Regions from separate parts of the Homo sapiens genome. Here region 1 is linked to region 2. The links are contacts of gene promoters, found by promoter capture Hi-C in blood cells and fetal thymus (Javierre and others, 2016). All regions are on one chromosome and are shown on one strand. The core of a region is centred on a gene start or on the middle of the fragment in contact, and the rest is flanking DNA. Distances in the headings are between cores, read along the strand shown.

The links. Contacts are between HindIII fragments. The CHiCAGO score rates a contact against its expected background, and 5 or more counts as called.
Region 1: a contact is called between a fragment that was not itself captured here and the fragment with the promoter of ADAP1 in region 2, in 1 of 17 cell types (naive B cells). The highest score is 5.7, in naive B cells.

Annotation. Positions count from the first base shown.
Region 1 is chr7:324,247-331,627 of GRCh38, reverse strand. It overlaps LOC105375118 (a long non-coding RNA gene), which reads left to right. Exons shown (of 3, transcript XR_926965.4): 3 at 265-2,001. Among named protein-coding and RNA genes, the nearest start is that of FOXL3-OT1, 37 kb to the right of the region's middle. The HindIII fragment of the contact is 3,993 bases long and covers 726-4,718 here.
Region 2 is chr7:952,602-959,921 of GRCh38, reverse strand. It overlaps ADAP1 (ArfGAP with dual PH domains 1), which reads left to right and starts at 5,242. Exons shown (of 11, transcript NM_006869.4): 1 at 5,242-5,526. The coding sequence starts at 5,445. It overlaps LOC124901569 (a long non-coding RNA gene), which reads right to left and starts at 5,068. Exons shown (of 2, transcript XR_007060178.1): 1 at 4,658-5,068; 2 at 4,432-4,554. RefSeq lists silencers at 1,635-1,694, 4,936-5,035, 4,891-5,046, 5,066-5,555, 5,846-6,055 and enhancers at 4,349-4,958, 6,181-6,792. The HindIII fragment of the contact is 7,508 bases long and covers 1-7,060 here.

The sequences.
Region 1 (7,381 bases), core at 1,473-3,972, 630 kb after region 2:
AGAATTGCTTGAACCTAGGAGGTGGAGGTTGCAGTGAGCCTAGATTGAGCCATTGCACTCCAGCCTGGGTGACAAGAGTGAAATTTCGTCTCAAAAAAAAAAAAAAATCTAAACATAAAATCTAAAATAAAAGTTTCATTAAAAACAGTTGAGAGAGGATATAATATAGGATCTTGTGGGTCACTCTAAGGTTGGATCCTGTGGGTCACTCTAAGGGTTTTGGGCTTTGCTGTCAGTGTCAGCACAATGATTTTACTTTTGCAGGTGGTGTGTCTCTCGGGACCAAGTGGATGTTGAGATACCAGCCGGACAGCTATTATACCAATGCAGAAAGAAGGAAATGGTGGCTTGGGTACTAGTGCCGGGGGACGGGGGAGAGGACATGGTTGCTTGGGCCAAAGGATGGTGCTGAAGTGGGGAGAAGGGGTCTGATTCCAGGTATGTTTTGAAGGTGAAGCCAACAAGAGTTGCTGACAGATTCAGCGTGGGGATGAGAGGAAAGGAGAGTCTGGGCTGAGCCCAGGGTCTCGCCTAACTAGCTAGAGGGATGAGGCCACGCTGACCCAGTGGGGAGTGGGGAAGGGCAGTGCAGGGAGGACAATGGGGAGTTTGTTCTGAGCATGTCCTGGCTGAGATGCCTGCTGGACTTCAAGCTCAAGAAACCTCTTGGATTTAAATCTAGAGTTGAGAGGAGAGGTTGTCCTTCAGGGGTCCATATGAAAGCTTCAGGTGCTTCCGAGGGATCCTCTGGCATGACAGGTCTGAGCCCGTCTTTCCCTCTCCGGCACTGCAGGGCTCCCGCAGTTCTGCTTAGATTCCTAGCAGCCTCTGCTCAGCCCCTCTGCGCTCACCCTGTGCTGCTTGCAAACAGACACCCTGGACTGTTGGGATCCTTTCCTCTCCCCGGGATCTTGTCTCTCCAAGCCCTGGCTGTGTGAGCAGTCCTGCACTCTGATTCTCGTCTTCCTGCTGGCACGACAGTGTTGAAAGCTCCTCTGAGCTTCTCGGATTCTCAGCAGACCTCCCTGCTCAGCTTCTCAGCATCTCTGCTCATGCCAGTTATGAGTTTGCGGTTGCCCCAAAGGGTGCAGAAGTTCGGGTCACCTCAACGCGTTTCCCTCCCCCACAATGTCTTGGGCCTTCAGGTCCTGGCTGCCTTGGTAACTCTCTGACACATTGAGACACATGTGGTCATTTGTTTTCTCCAACCTGGTTGATGGAAGCCAAAAGTGGACTCCTTTTTATTTTTTTGTTTTTTGACAGGGTCTTTCTCTTTTGCCCAGGCTGGAGTGCAGTGATGCGGTCACAGCTCACTGCAGCCTCAACGTCCTGGGCTGAAGCCATCCTGCCGCCTCAGCCTCTTGAGTATCTGGGAGCACAGGTGTACACCACCATGCCCGGTTAATTTATTTTTGTAGAGACGGTGTCTCGTCATGTTGCCCAGCGTTCCGCCTAGGCCTCCCGAAGTGCTGGGATTGCAGGTGTGAGCCACTGTGCCCAGCCTCCTCGTTTTTCTTACAGTTGTGTTTCACTTTATGGATCTATTATGATTTATATAACAACCTCTTATCAACGGGCTTTTAGGCCATTGTAAATAATGCTGCAGTGAGTAATTTCACACATAGACGGCCTCACCTGTGCGCAATGGTATCTATAGGATAAGCAGAATTGCCGGGCCAAAGGGCAGATGCATTTACATTTTTATTGATGTTGCCAACTTCGTGGCCATAAACGTTGTGCTAACTTGTCCTTTCATCAGCTATGTACGAGAGCGCCTGCTTCCCCACAAGTCTGTCAACATTGAGGGTTGCCTGGCATTTTGCTTTTTGCCAGTCTGACCCGTCATAAAATGGAACCTCCATTTAGTTTCAATTTGTGTTTCCTTGTTACCAGTGTGGTTGGGTGTCTTTCTATGTGTTAAAATGCCAGTTGCCGGCCGGCGCTGTGGCTCACGCCTGTAATCCCAGCACTTTGGGAGGCCAAGACGGGTGGATCACGAGGTTGGGAGATTGAGACCATCCTGGCTAACACGGTGAAACTCCGTCTCTACTAAAAATACAAAATATTAGCCGGGCGTGGTGGCGGGAACATGTAGTCCCAGCTACTCGGGAGGCTGAGGCAGGAGAATGGTGTGAACCCGGGAGGTGGAGCTTGCAGTGAGCCGAGATTGGTCCACTGCCCCCCAGTCTGGGCGACAGAGCGAGACTCTGTCAAAAAAAAAAAAAAAGCCAGTTGCCCATTTAAGTTCTTTACTCATGTTTTGATGAGTTTGCTGGTCTTTATCTCATTGTTTTCAGGAGGGTTTTTTTAAATGTATTTGGGAAAGTAGCATCTTGTCTACCGTATGAGTTGCTAATACCTCTTCCTCAGTTGGTTGGCTATCTGTTAACTTTGGCTTGCAGTATTTTAATATTTTTAAATGTATGTCTTGCATATTTCTTTTCTTTCTTTCTTTTTTTTTAGATGGAGTCTCACTCTGTCTCCAAGGCTGGAGTGCAGTGGCACAACCTCGGCTCACTGCAACCTCCACCTCCCTCATTCAAGTGATTCTCCTGCCTCAGTCTCCCCAGTAGCTGGGATTACAGGCGCATGCCACCACGCCCGGATGATTTTTGTATTTTTAGTAGAGATGGGGTTTCACCATGTTGGCCAGGTTGGTCTTGAACTCCTGACCTCAGGTGATCCGCCTGCCTCGACCTCACAAAGTGCTGGGACTACAGGTGTGAGCCACCACGCCCGACCGATGTCCTGCATATTTCTTATTAGGCTTATTCCTAGAAGTTTGTTGTTTTTGCTACTGCTAAAATATGCTATTTAATGTCATTAACTTTGCTAACTGAGGCCAGAGCTACGGGAAACTAAACGAAGTTAACCAACCAACCGAGCAAATAGCAAGTGCTTACTGAGCCTCTATATCGTCCTCACAATATTGTCGGAATGAAGCTGCCATGTTGGGTGTTGCAGGGACAAGAGAGTAGAAGATTCAATCAATCCTCGCTTTTAAGTTGTTCAAAATTGATTGAAAAAGACATAGAGAGACACAAAGACACAGCCTGGGTGGGGACAGGTGGGCGGCCCCAGGTGAGGGGCAGGCACCGAGGTCATCACGGGCGCTGGCGTTCAGGCCTTCCGGGTGGCAGCAGGGTGGGTTGAAAGGGGACTGTGGCCGACAGGAACATGGGCAGAGGACTGGCCAAGCAATTTCTAAGAGAAAAAAGGAACACCCACGATGAACACAGGAAAAACATACCCTCCTCTCCAGTACTTAAAAAAAAATGACATTTTACTGGCCCAACGAAGTGGCAAAGATTTCCTTCAAGGGTAAAACCTTGGGTAGGAGAGTCTTCAACAGAAACAGAGGCGGAGGGGAATGGCCACCATCCCTCTACGCACCTGTCCGGGCAGCGGGGCAGTGGGCCATGATCCTGAGCGTGTCCTGCGTACCAGGCACCCCGGGCAAGCAACAGAGAACCAGGCAGGTGTGGGAAACCATGTTCTGGCTGGGGAAGCAGACAATACCCAAGTCAGCAAGTGAATATGGGAGCGTGAATTGTGACCAGCATCACCCCACAAGAGGGAATGAACGGGACATTGAGGGAGGGAGTTGTGGGGGACCATGGGGCCGGCGTTTCCCTCACAGAGGGTGATATGAAGGGGAGGTGGCATCTGAGCAGAGAGGTGAAGAATGCAAAGGGGCCGGCCGCGTGGAGACAGCGGGGAGGAGAGGTCCAGGCAGAGAGATTAGAATGAGCCAAGGCTCTGCCTGGGAGCCGTGGCGGGCAGGCGGGCATCTCTCTCTCTCCCCATGGTCTCAGGGCTTCTCCACGTGCGATAGTTTCACAGCACGGTGGCCTCGGAGCATCCAGACGGCTAACTGGACAGCTCGGGGTTGCACGTGCCTGTTCCCAGAGACCAGGCTGACACCGACGCCTCCCGTGACTTCAGACCCCACAAGTCACGCAGATGGTTTCTGCCGTTGCCACAAGCCCACCCTGGAGGCCAGGGCAGGGGCCTGGACCCCACCTTCCTATCAGTCTCTCATAAGAAGAGCCCCTGGCTGGGCTGGGAGATGTCGCTGTGGCCACCATGGGGCAGCCAGTGGGCAGAGTGAAGAGCCAGGCATAGAGGCCGGCAGAGACCCGACAGTGCAGGTGCCTGGCGGGCCGGGATGGGCCAGGTGGACGGGAAGGACAGTGGCTATGAGATTCAAAGCGCCTGCTGAAAGGACTCATCCTGGCTGCCTGTGCGCCAGAGCTGCATGCAAAGGGCAAGGTGGGTGCGGGGAGACTGGGCAGGACCCTGTCTCACAGCTCCTGCTCGGCCCCCTGGCTGAGGTGAGGAGGGCCACACCTGAGGTCCTCCCCTAACAGGGACCACATGTTTCCTCATGCTCTTGGCCAAAATGAGATGACCATCTTGGTGGTGTGTGCGCTGCAAAGTGAGCCTGCCAGGCCAATGGGAATAGATTCAGCAGAATAACACCCAAACGTAATTCAAGCAAAGACAAACATCTCATGTCAGGCTCACGGCATTCAGAGAAACATGGGAGAATTCCTGCCTCCGTGCATGGGCCAATCAGATAGGGCCACTCCTGAGTTGCTCTGTGTTGGGAAATGACCTAATAGCCTTACAGCTTGTTACTGATTAATTTTGTTTGATGTGGGAGGCTGCATGGATTTTTAATAAGGGCTACTTGTAATTGCAAGCCGACTGAAGCTTCCAGAATCATGAAGTGCATTTCAGGGAATTTTGCAAAACACAGGACACAAGGCCTGTGTGCCCAGCACTCCCAGCTGGTAATTACATTCGAGCTGCTGTGTAGAGAGAACCTAGGGGCTCTCGTTAACTAATGACAGGAATTAGGGAGCTATTAGTGCCTGCTGGTGGGACCCGGCTCTTCCCTCATAAATCTCCAGCCCGTTGATATCCTGGCCTCCCAGTGAGTTGGGGTTTTAGTCTGTATATTAGAAAGTGCTGAGAGAGGGGAAACCAAATACAGAGAAAACTTCTAAGTCCCCCAGGCCAAGGGACATGCATGGGCCCCTGACATCTGTGCCAATCTGCTCTGCCCCCTTAAAAGAAGCCGTGACGACAGCCAGGGCGGCCACGCCGGGTACTGGGTCCTGGGTCTGAACATGACAGCTGCCCACTGGTGTATCCACAGCTTCACACGGGGACCAGCGCCCATCTCTGTCTCAACCGCCCCAGGAACAAGCCTTGTTTCTGAGCAGTGGCCACCTCTGTGGGTCTCTGGAAACTTGGCCATAAGTGCCAGCTAGCTGGTGGGAAGGACAGGGAGTGAGTGGGCTGGACACACAGACAGCAGGCCACGCAGTGCCTGGGGTATCCAGGAAAACAGCACAAGGACAGAAACCAGCTACAGGTGCAGATGAGGGGAAGAAATGAGTTAGGAAGCAATGGGCTGCATGGAACAGAAAAGACAAATCAACTGCCTTCACTGAGAGGGAACGGACTGATGCCGGGAGGTCTGGAGGCAGGTGGCGTTCAGGCTTGGCTTGACCCAGCGGCTCAACGAGGCTGTCACGGCCTCAATTTCTTTCCATCTCTGCCCTCTGCATAGTTGGCCTTATTCCAAAGCCAGCTCTTCCTCATGGGCACAAAATAGCTGCTGCAGTGCCAGGCTTCACATCGCATATCCCACCCTGCCCAGGAGAGAGGATGTGTCTGTCCCTGCAGTCTGCATGAGGAGCACCCTGATTGGATGCCTGGGCTATGTGAGAACACGGCCAGGGGAGAGGACTGTGTGAGCACACGGCCAGGGGAGAGGACTGTGTGACGAATGTGAGGGAATCACGGCTCCTTTGGAAGAGGGGTTGTGGGCAGCTTGGCCCAAGCACACAGAGACGGATGGGTGGGGGACGGACGCTTGAACAGTGGAGCCAGAGCTGGAACTCAGGGCCGGATGGAAGGGAGCTTGCCCCTGCACAAGGCATTCAGGTTTTATTTTTAAGATGATCAGGAGCTAGGAATGCTTTCGGCTGGAGGGAGGGAGGTCTATGCAGCTGGAGAGGGGGGAGGTGGGGTGTGGGGGCTGGGGCCAGGAGGTGTGTGGGGCAGAGACAGTGGGTGAAGGGAGAGGGGCTGGGTGGGGCACTGGAAGCCGTCTGCTCTACCCCACACTGTGGACTCACGCCGTCCTCACAACCACTCGGCAGCAACGTCTCCCTCCATCGTGGAAGGAGAAGGGTGGGCAGGTGGCTGCCAATGCCACTCCCATTTTCAAATGTGGAGACTGAGACACAGAACCACAGGTTTCAAGATGACACAGCCAGTAAAGGATTTGAACCTGGGCCTGTGGAACCCACTCCCACATGACACCCTTGAGGGACAGGGAGGTGGCGGGTGGCAGCTTCTGGGCAGACCAGAGGCTCATACTCGGAGAGGAGATGGGTGAAGACCCAGACACCTGCGGAGACGGTCATGGGGCTGACTGGCGGGACGGGGGAGGTAAGGACCGACTTGGCTTGCGACCTTTAGTGTTTGGGACAATGGTGGGTAAGTAGGCAGTTTTGCCTGTGTCGGGAAAATTTTAAGACTTTGAAATGGGCAAAAAGGATTGTGTGTCCCGTCTCCCGCACCCTTCCGGGGTCTTGCGGCCTTTCACGCTCTTTTGCAGAAACCTGACAATAATACAATAATACAAATGATGCGTGTCCGTAAAAATGCAAGTTAACCTTGTCTGGTGGAATGCCGTCGATCATTACATCATCTGTAAATCCACTTCGGTGCTCCTTGTTTTTTTTTTTTTTTTTTTTTTTTGAGACAGAATCTCGCTCTGTCTCCCAGGCTGGAGTGCAGTGGCGCGATCTCGGCTCACTGCAACCTCCGCCTCCTGAGTTCAAGCAATTCTCCTGCCTCAGCCTCCAAGTAGCTGGGACTGCAGGTGCCCATCACCACACCCGGCTAATTTTTGTAATTTTAGTAGAGATGGGGTTTCGCCATGTTGGCCAGGCTGGTCTTGAACTCCTGACCTCAAGTGATCCACCCTCCTTGGCCTCCCAAAGTGTCGGGATTACAGGCGTGAGCCACCGTGCCCGGCCCATTCCTTATTTTCTATATAATGTGCTTTGAATTCTCCTGTGAGCCAGTTCTAACGTCTTATTGGTTTCCTTGCTAATTAAGGCGTTCAATAAAATCCTCGCTGCATTTCATATTTGTAGGATAGTCATGCTTTTACCTTAAAATTCAACACTCTATTAATATGACTCTTGACCATCAGAGGTGGGTTTGGGGCTCAGGAGAGGGCAGAGCTGGGGGAGGCTGGGGTGGGAGGTCCAGGGAAAGATGGGAGGAGATGCTGCCTGGGGACGTAGAGGGAAGGGTTTGCAAGTACGACCTCCCGGCCTGTCTACAAGTCCCT
Region 2 (7,320 bases), core at 3,993-6,492:
CAGCATTTGGGGAGGCCGAGGCAGGCGGATCACGAAGTCAGGAGTTTGAGACCAGCCTGATCAACATGGTGAAACCCTCGTCTCTGTTAAAAATACACAAATCAGCCAGGCGTGGTGGCTCACACCTGTGATCCCAGCTACTCAGGAGGCTGAGGCAGGAGAATTGCTGGAACCCGGGAGCGGAGGTTGCAGTGAGCCGAGATCATGCCACTGCACTCCAGCCTGGGTGACAGAGCGAGACTCTATCTCAAAAGAAAAAAAAAAAAAAGAGAAAAGGAAAGATGCTGCTGAGAACACTCGTGTCCAGGTGCGTGTGGACGTGTTTTCTGCCGTCCTCGGGCGCATACCGGGGAGTGGGTTTCCAGGGTCCCACGGTAGCTCCATGCCAGCCCGTTTTCCAGGGCGGCTGCACCGTCTTACACCCACCAGCGCTGTGGGAGGGGCCAGCTTCCCCCATCCTCACCGGCACTGTCTGTCTGTAAATCCTAGCCTCCCTCCACCGGCCCCCCGCCAGGTCTTCACTGCATCCTGGTGTGATTGGCATTTCCCTGACGACTAATGGTGCTGAATATTTCCGGTGCCTGTCGGCGGCTGTGTGTCTTCCTTGGGGACGCATGTGTTCAGATTCTTTGCCCTTTTTTTAATTGGTTCACTTGCCTTTTTATTACTGAGTTGTATGGGTTCTTTATAAGTAACTGTTTCTTGAGGCTGCACCAATTTGGGTGTGAACTTTGTAAACACTACTGCCCGATGGTCGCTGCGGAAAGGGGCCAGGGCTGGTGGGGGGAGAGCACCTCCCGGGGTCCCGCGTCGGGTCTGGGCCTCCTCCCCATGCCAAGTGCGTGATTCCGGCCCCCGAGGACCCTGCTGGTCCCAGGCCTCAAGAGATGGCACCTGGGGAGACCTGGGCCGTGACTGGAGTGGTCAGGCCAACGCCAGCTGCCCAGCGGGGGAGGAAAGGATGGGGGATGGCAGGACCCCTGCCCGGGCGCAGTGCCCAGCTCCATACCTGCCACCAGCCCGTCGGTTATGGGGATGGCTCTCCACGACCCCCTTCTCCACTCCAGACCCCATCTCTGTTTGGAAAACCAAGCAAAAGATATGTTCAAATGCCCCAAAACCCAGTAAGCCAACCTGTGCACCCACCTCCATGGCATGACATCTTGGGGAGGCCCCTGAGGACTCCCTGCTTCCAAAGGGGTTTCCGGGTCTAGCCCCACTCCCAGAAAATTGTGCTGAGACCACCTCTGGTCCTGGGTGGTTCCCCCTCCCCTGCATTTCGGGGCGCAGTGGCTATTTCTGGGGAATCCCCGTGTCTCCTTTAAGCCCCTCCTGAGCAGAGCTCTTTAGGATCCGTATGCTGCTGAACTCCTACTCCAGGTGCCCGAGGGGTGGCAGGGCCCTCACAGCAGTCAGAAGGCCCAGGAGGGTCTGCGCAGGGCCAAAGGCACGTCGCAGAGGACAGGGTGGAGGCCACAGCCAGTGGGCTTCCCTGGAGGGGGCCGGCCACATGGGGGCCCAACATCACGACCCCCATCCCCACAGCTGAGGCAGGTAGAGCCAGGAGCTGCCCACCCCTGCGCTGAGCCTGGATGTTGAAGACCCCTGCTTGGCCTGCAGGGCGGCCTACTGAGCTCACGGCCATCGTGCCAGACGCTGTCCAAGCGCAGATAATTTGACTGAATTAGCCCCGGCCCCTGTGCGGGGTGGAGAGGGAAGTGAACCTCCACAACCTCCCCTCCCCTGAGGCAGCTCCTGGTTGAGCAAGCTCGGCTGACTGTTGGGCAAGATGGTCGCAGAGCAGGGCCCAGCCCGGCCTCAGTCCATTTGCCCCTTCCCTGGGGAGAGCCCCCTTCTGCCTGTGCTGAGAGGCTCACCCCGCAGCTGCAGGCCTGGGAGGAGCCAGCTTCCAATCAAAGTCGCCTGCTGGCCTACCACGCGCAGGCCCCGTGCTCAGGCGACGCTGGAGGAGCTCGCCCTGCTCTCGGGAGCCCCCTGCCCAGGGTCTGCTGTGTGGCCGAGTGGTCACAGGAGGCGGCTGCCTCTGGCTCTGGACTAGGGAGATGCTTGAGGAATGAGTGTCAGGGTCCCTGGTGCAGCCGTGCGGGTCAGTGACAAGGGGCAGGAGGCTCAGCAGAGCTTGTAGGCCACTGGGCATGAGCAGGAGCAGGCACGCCGCCTGTCCAGGCCCCTCGCCAGCCGCTGCTGGCCGGAACAGCCTTTGACCAGCACTGGTCTGGGTCTGGCCCACCCTGAGCTATGCTGTTACCTTCCGGATTCTTCCTGAGTCCTGGGCTCCCCTACTGCCCCGCCCAGCCCTGACCACAGCCAGTCAGGGCAGCAGGATTTCAGGACGGCTGTGCTCTCGGGTCCAGGCAGGTACTTGCGGATCTCGGCCGAGCAGCCTCCTCTTTGGAAGAATCCCCCTCAGCCCCGACATCTCTTAGATCTGAGGGGTTCACCCACCTCTGTCTCATCCTCACGCCCTCCTGCCCCCCGAGCAATGCCACAGTTCCCTTAGCGGGATGGAAGGACAGAGAAGGCAAGACACTCGCCTGCTGGAGCTGCCCCACGGAGGAGGCCCCGGAACAGCAGGCAGTAGATGGCCTTGGCTTGTGCCAGAAGCTCTGGCCTGTTGGGCACCGGCTCCCCTGAGGCCTCCCTGCTGCCTTTTCTATGCCTTGTATGATGGCCTCCCCGTCTTTGGGGACCTTGGGTAACGGCTATGTTAGGGTGTGTTGCTTTGTTATATTGTTTTATGTATATTCCAGTCCTGAGGTGTGTGGCCTCCAGCAAGGGATCGAACCTCCCCGTGCCTCAGTCTTCCCAGCTGAAAATGGGGCTTTAATAAGAAAATACATGTCGGCCGGTCGCGGTGGCTCACGCCCATAATACCAGCACTTTGGGAGGCCTAGGCAGGCGGATCACGAGGTCAGGAGATCGAGAGCATCCTGGCTAACACGGTGAAACCCCGTCTCTACTAAAAATACAAAAAAATTAGCCGGGCGTGGTGGCATGCACCTGTGTCCCAGCTGCTGGGGAGGCTGAGGCAGGAGAATGGTGTGAACCCGGGAGGCGGAGCTTGCAGTGAGCCGAGATCGCACCACTGCACTCCAGCCTGGGTGACAGAGCAAGACTCTGTCTCAAAAAAAAAAAAAAGAAAAAAGAAAATACACGTCAAGCCAGGCGTGGTGGCTCAGGCCTGTAATCCCAGCACTTTCAGAGGCTAAGGCAGGCAGATCACGTGAAGTCAGGTGTTCGAGACCAGCCTGGGCAACATGGTGAAACCCTGTCTCTACCAAAAAATAAAAATATACCTGGGCATGGTGGCACCCATTTGTGGTCCCAGCTACTCAGGAGGCTGAGGCAGGAGAATCACCTGACCCCAGGAAGCAGAGGTTGCAGTGAGCTAAGATCGTGCCACTGCACTCCAGCCTGGGCGATAGACCAAAACCCTGTCTCAAAAAAAAAAAAAAAAAAAGGAAAAAAAGAAAAGAAAAGAAAAGAAAATAGAAAATACAAGTCAGGCTATTTCTCCTAATACCTAGTGCTGAGCTGCTGCTATTAATGTTCGTCTGTCTTTATTAGGCGACATTCTCCAAGCTCATGCTGTGTGGTGGATTCCGAGCCTGGCACAGGGACCCAGAGATGAAAATGCCACCTGTCCCCACCCCAAAGCCTCCCGTCTGAGGGAGGAGAAAGACCCATGTGAACGGTTACAGGGAAAGAGCACGTGATGCCACAGGGCACAGATCCCAGAGACACAGACCAAAACGGGCTGCCGCGTTCTGCTTCAGGTAGACAGAGCTTAAGCAGCTCCATGATTCCACGTCAGCTGGAGCAGGGGGACAGGTGCCTTTGGTGGCACTCTGGTCAGTGCAGCCTCAGTGGAGGCCATTCCACATCCCATACCATTGCCCCAGCGATGCCACTTTGAGAGCAAATCCACACAAAACTCTTGCAAAGATGAGGTTGTGTAGACCATGATTCTGATGCATTCAAAACGCTCTAAATGCCCCTATGCCAGTGACTGGGTGAACAAGTCATGGTTCAGTTGAACTTTTTTTGAGTTTGTTTGTTTGGTTTTTTTTTTTTTTTTTTTTTTTTGAAACGGAGTTTCACTCTTGTTGCCCAGGCTGGAGTGCAATGGCGCAATCTCGGCTCGCTGCAACCTCTGCCTGCCAGGTTCATGCGATTCTCCTGCCTCAGCCTCCCAAGTAGCTGGGATTGCAGGCATGCGCCACCACGCCTGGCTAATTTCTTTGTATTTAGTAGAGACGGGGTTTCACCATGTTGCCCAGGCTGGTCTCAAACTCCTGAGCTCAAGTGATCCACCCGCCAGGGTCTCCCAAAGTGCTGGGATTACAGCCGTTAGCCAAAACCCTGTCTCGATAAATGAATAAATAAATGAAAGGCTACAGGCCTCAGACGTTCGTTCTGGAAGGTGCTGAGGAATTTGTTAACAGTGGTTGCCTGGAAGGCAGTGGGGAGAGGCTTTCCTTTTTCAGTCTGGTATGTTCCAGTTTGTTTTCAGCCGGGTGTACTGCATTAACCCTGCAAGAAGAAAATGGAAAGAATTTGAAAAGATGCTGGGGTGTGCAGAGGAAGGGCACGCGAGTCTGGGAAGAGGTGACATCAAAACCAGGTTTTTTGTTACCTGTCAGCCCCCATGTGAAGTCCCGGCGGGGCCCCTCAGCCTGCCTGAGTGGGAGGGGTGCCCAGAGGGTCCCATCTGTGGGTGGTGGGCGGCTGGGTGGGTCTCAGGGGGAGGCTCCGTCTGGGCCCTGTGTGGCCTCAGTGCCCTGGGACGCTGGCGTTTGTCACCTGCTGGCCGTCCCTCCCAGGCAGGGATGGTGTGAGCGCCCTGGTCCTGGTCCGTAGCACAGGACACGCACACCTGCCTTCCACGAGCACCCCCATGCCCATGGTCTTGGGGGGCTCGGCAGGTGCCCTCTGCGCCCCCCACAGTAGGTGTGCAGGCTCCGTCCCACCGCGCGCGGCGGCACGAGGGTCCCACCCAGGCCGGCCAGGTTTTGGGGCGGCCTCGCGCCCAGGCAGGTGGGACGCTGCGCGCGGATGGGGGGCGGGCGGCGGGCGATTTCCCAGCGGGTCCCCGGGGCGCGCGGGCTGGGGGCGCCGGAGCGGCCGAGGGAGGAGGCCACACGCTCGCCTGCACCGCTGGGGGCCGCCCGCGGGCCTTGCCGGCCAGAGCGCAGCGTGCGCCCCGGGCCCCGCGCCGGCACTCGCTCAGCGACCGCGGCGGAGACACGAGCGGCGGCGGCGGAGCCCAGAGGGCGGCGGGAATGCGGAACCGGCGCGCGGGCTGAGGCCGCCCGGGATGGCGCAGGGGCGGCGGCGGCGGGCGGCCTGCGCGGGGCCCTAGCGAGCCGGGCTGACGCTCCCGGCCCCGGCCCCGGCATCGGCATCGCGGGCGCATCGCGGCCATGGCCAAGGAGCGGCGCAGGGCGGTCCTGGAGCTGCTGCAGCGGCCGGGGAACGCGCGCTGCGCGGACTGCGGCGCCCCGGGTAGGTGTGGGCCGGGTGGGCGCGGGGCCGGGTGGGTCCGGGGTGGGCGCGGGGTGCCGGGCGGGTCCTGGGTGGGCCCCGGGGACCGGGCGGGGGAGCGCGGACGCCGCGGGGGTGGCGGCGCTGAACACCGGGCCGGATCGGCGCTCGGATGGGGCCCGGGCCCGGCTGCACCTGCGGGGACCCGGACGTCTTCCCGGGCCGGGCGCAGCGGGGGGGCCCCCCCCAGGACCCCCGGAAACCCCCCTGCCGCCGCCTCCCCTCCCCCGCCGGGCTGCGTGTCTGACGGTCACCGCGGACCGCCCGCCGCGTTGCGAAAGCTCGGGCTCCGCACAGAAAGAGGAAATCGGGGCTGGCTGCAGGGAGGGAACGGGCCGCCAGCCGGAGGTCTCTGCTGGGCTGTGGGGTCCGCCGGCTCCGGGGCCACCTCGCGGTGACGTCATGCCTCACGCCCTTCCCGCACCGGGGGTCCCTGGGTGTGAGCGGCGCCCCTGCCCCCGGCTCCCTGCACCTGGCTGCTCCGGGGCGGGCGCCAGGACAGGTGAGGCCTGGGAGAGGTGGGGCCGGACGCAGGTCCTGGTCCACCCGCCGCCCGCCCGTTCGTTCTCCCGGCCGGGCATCCCTGACTCGGTTCCCAGGTCTGTGGGATTTCAAGGCACTGGAGTCCAAAGGCGCGGAGTCCCTCCCTTCCAGGCCACTGGTCCTGTCATTGGCTGTGAACGGGGCCCAGTGCCCAGACCAGCCCTGCCCTGCTCGGGAGCTGTCAGCCCCAGGCCGGCTGCGCTGTGGAGAGAGGGCCCCGCCGGAGCAGTCCCGCCACCCCAGGCACACCAGGAATCTGGGGGCCAATAGTCTAAGCCCCTCGGAACAAACCTAAACTCACCGGCGGTGACTGAGGCCCCCAGGGAGGGAGCGGGGGAAGACCTTGCATTTGCCTCCAAGGCCCTGGTTCAATATGCAGCCTCTGGACACCCCGGAAAAAGGGGTGTCCCTGATTCCCTCTGGGATGGAGGGGTCTCTGCCAGCCCCAGGTCGTGGTGGCTGCTGTCCAGCTGCAGCTTGGCTGGAAAGGCCACATCAGGAGCTGGGGTGTCCCAGAGGGGAGATAGCGACAGGCTTTTCTGGAAAGACAGGCAGGACCCACGGCCTTTCCATGGTCTCCTGAGACAGGACGGCCACAGGGCCCGTGCAATGGTGCGGTGGGGGTGGCCCCCTGGGCTGGCTCACCCCAGACTCTCTCCCCACAGACCTTTATTTCCTCCTGTTCAGGAACGCTCCCCAGGAAAGCCAGTGGGAAAGGGCCTGGCCTGGGGTTGCTGTGGCCCACGGGGAGGGGAGCTGGGCTTGCCTCTGAACCTCTGCTCCCTGGCCACACAGCCTGGGAGCAGCTTCTCTGGACTCAGGGCCCCTCTCCAGCCACCCTCTGGGCCTCCCAGCCTGGCAGGAGGAAGAGGGGACTTCCTTGGCCTGCTGGGTCCTTCAGTGGTCCTCCCCTCCCAGTGGGTGCAGGTGTGCCCGGCCCACCTGCTAAGCTTCCAGCCTGGCCCACCCCAGAGCTGTTCTCTGCCGTCCCTATGCCCCACGCTGCCGGGTAGAGGGCCGCACCTCTGCCTTTTCAGAATCTGTCCATGACCTCAGTGACTTGTCTCCTCTGTCGGGTAGCGCCATGGAGGGGGGATGCTGTGAGGGGTCACTCTCATTTCACAGCCAGGGAGACTGATGCCTTGCAAAGGGAGCTGTCTTAGGGGACATGAGCCACACCCGGCCGCTCTGCTTGTCCCCGCTCCCCAGGGC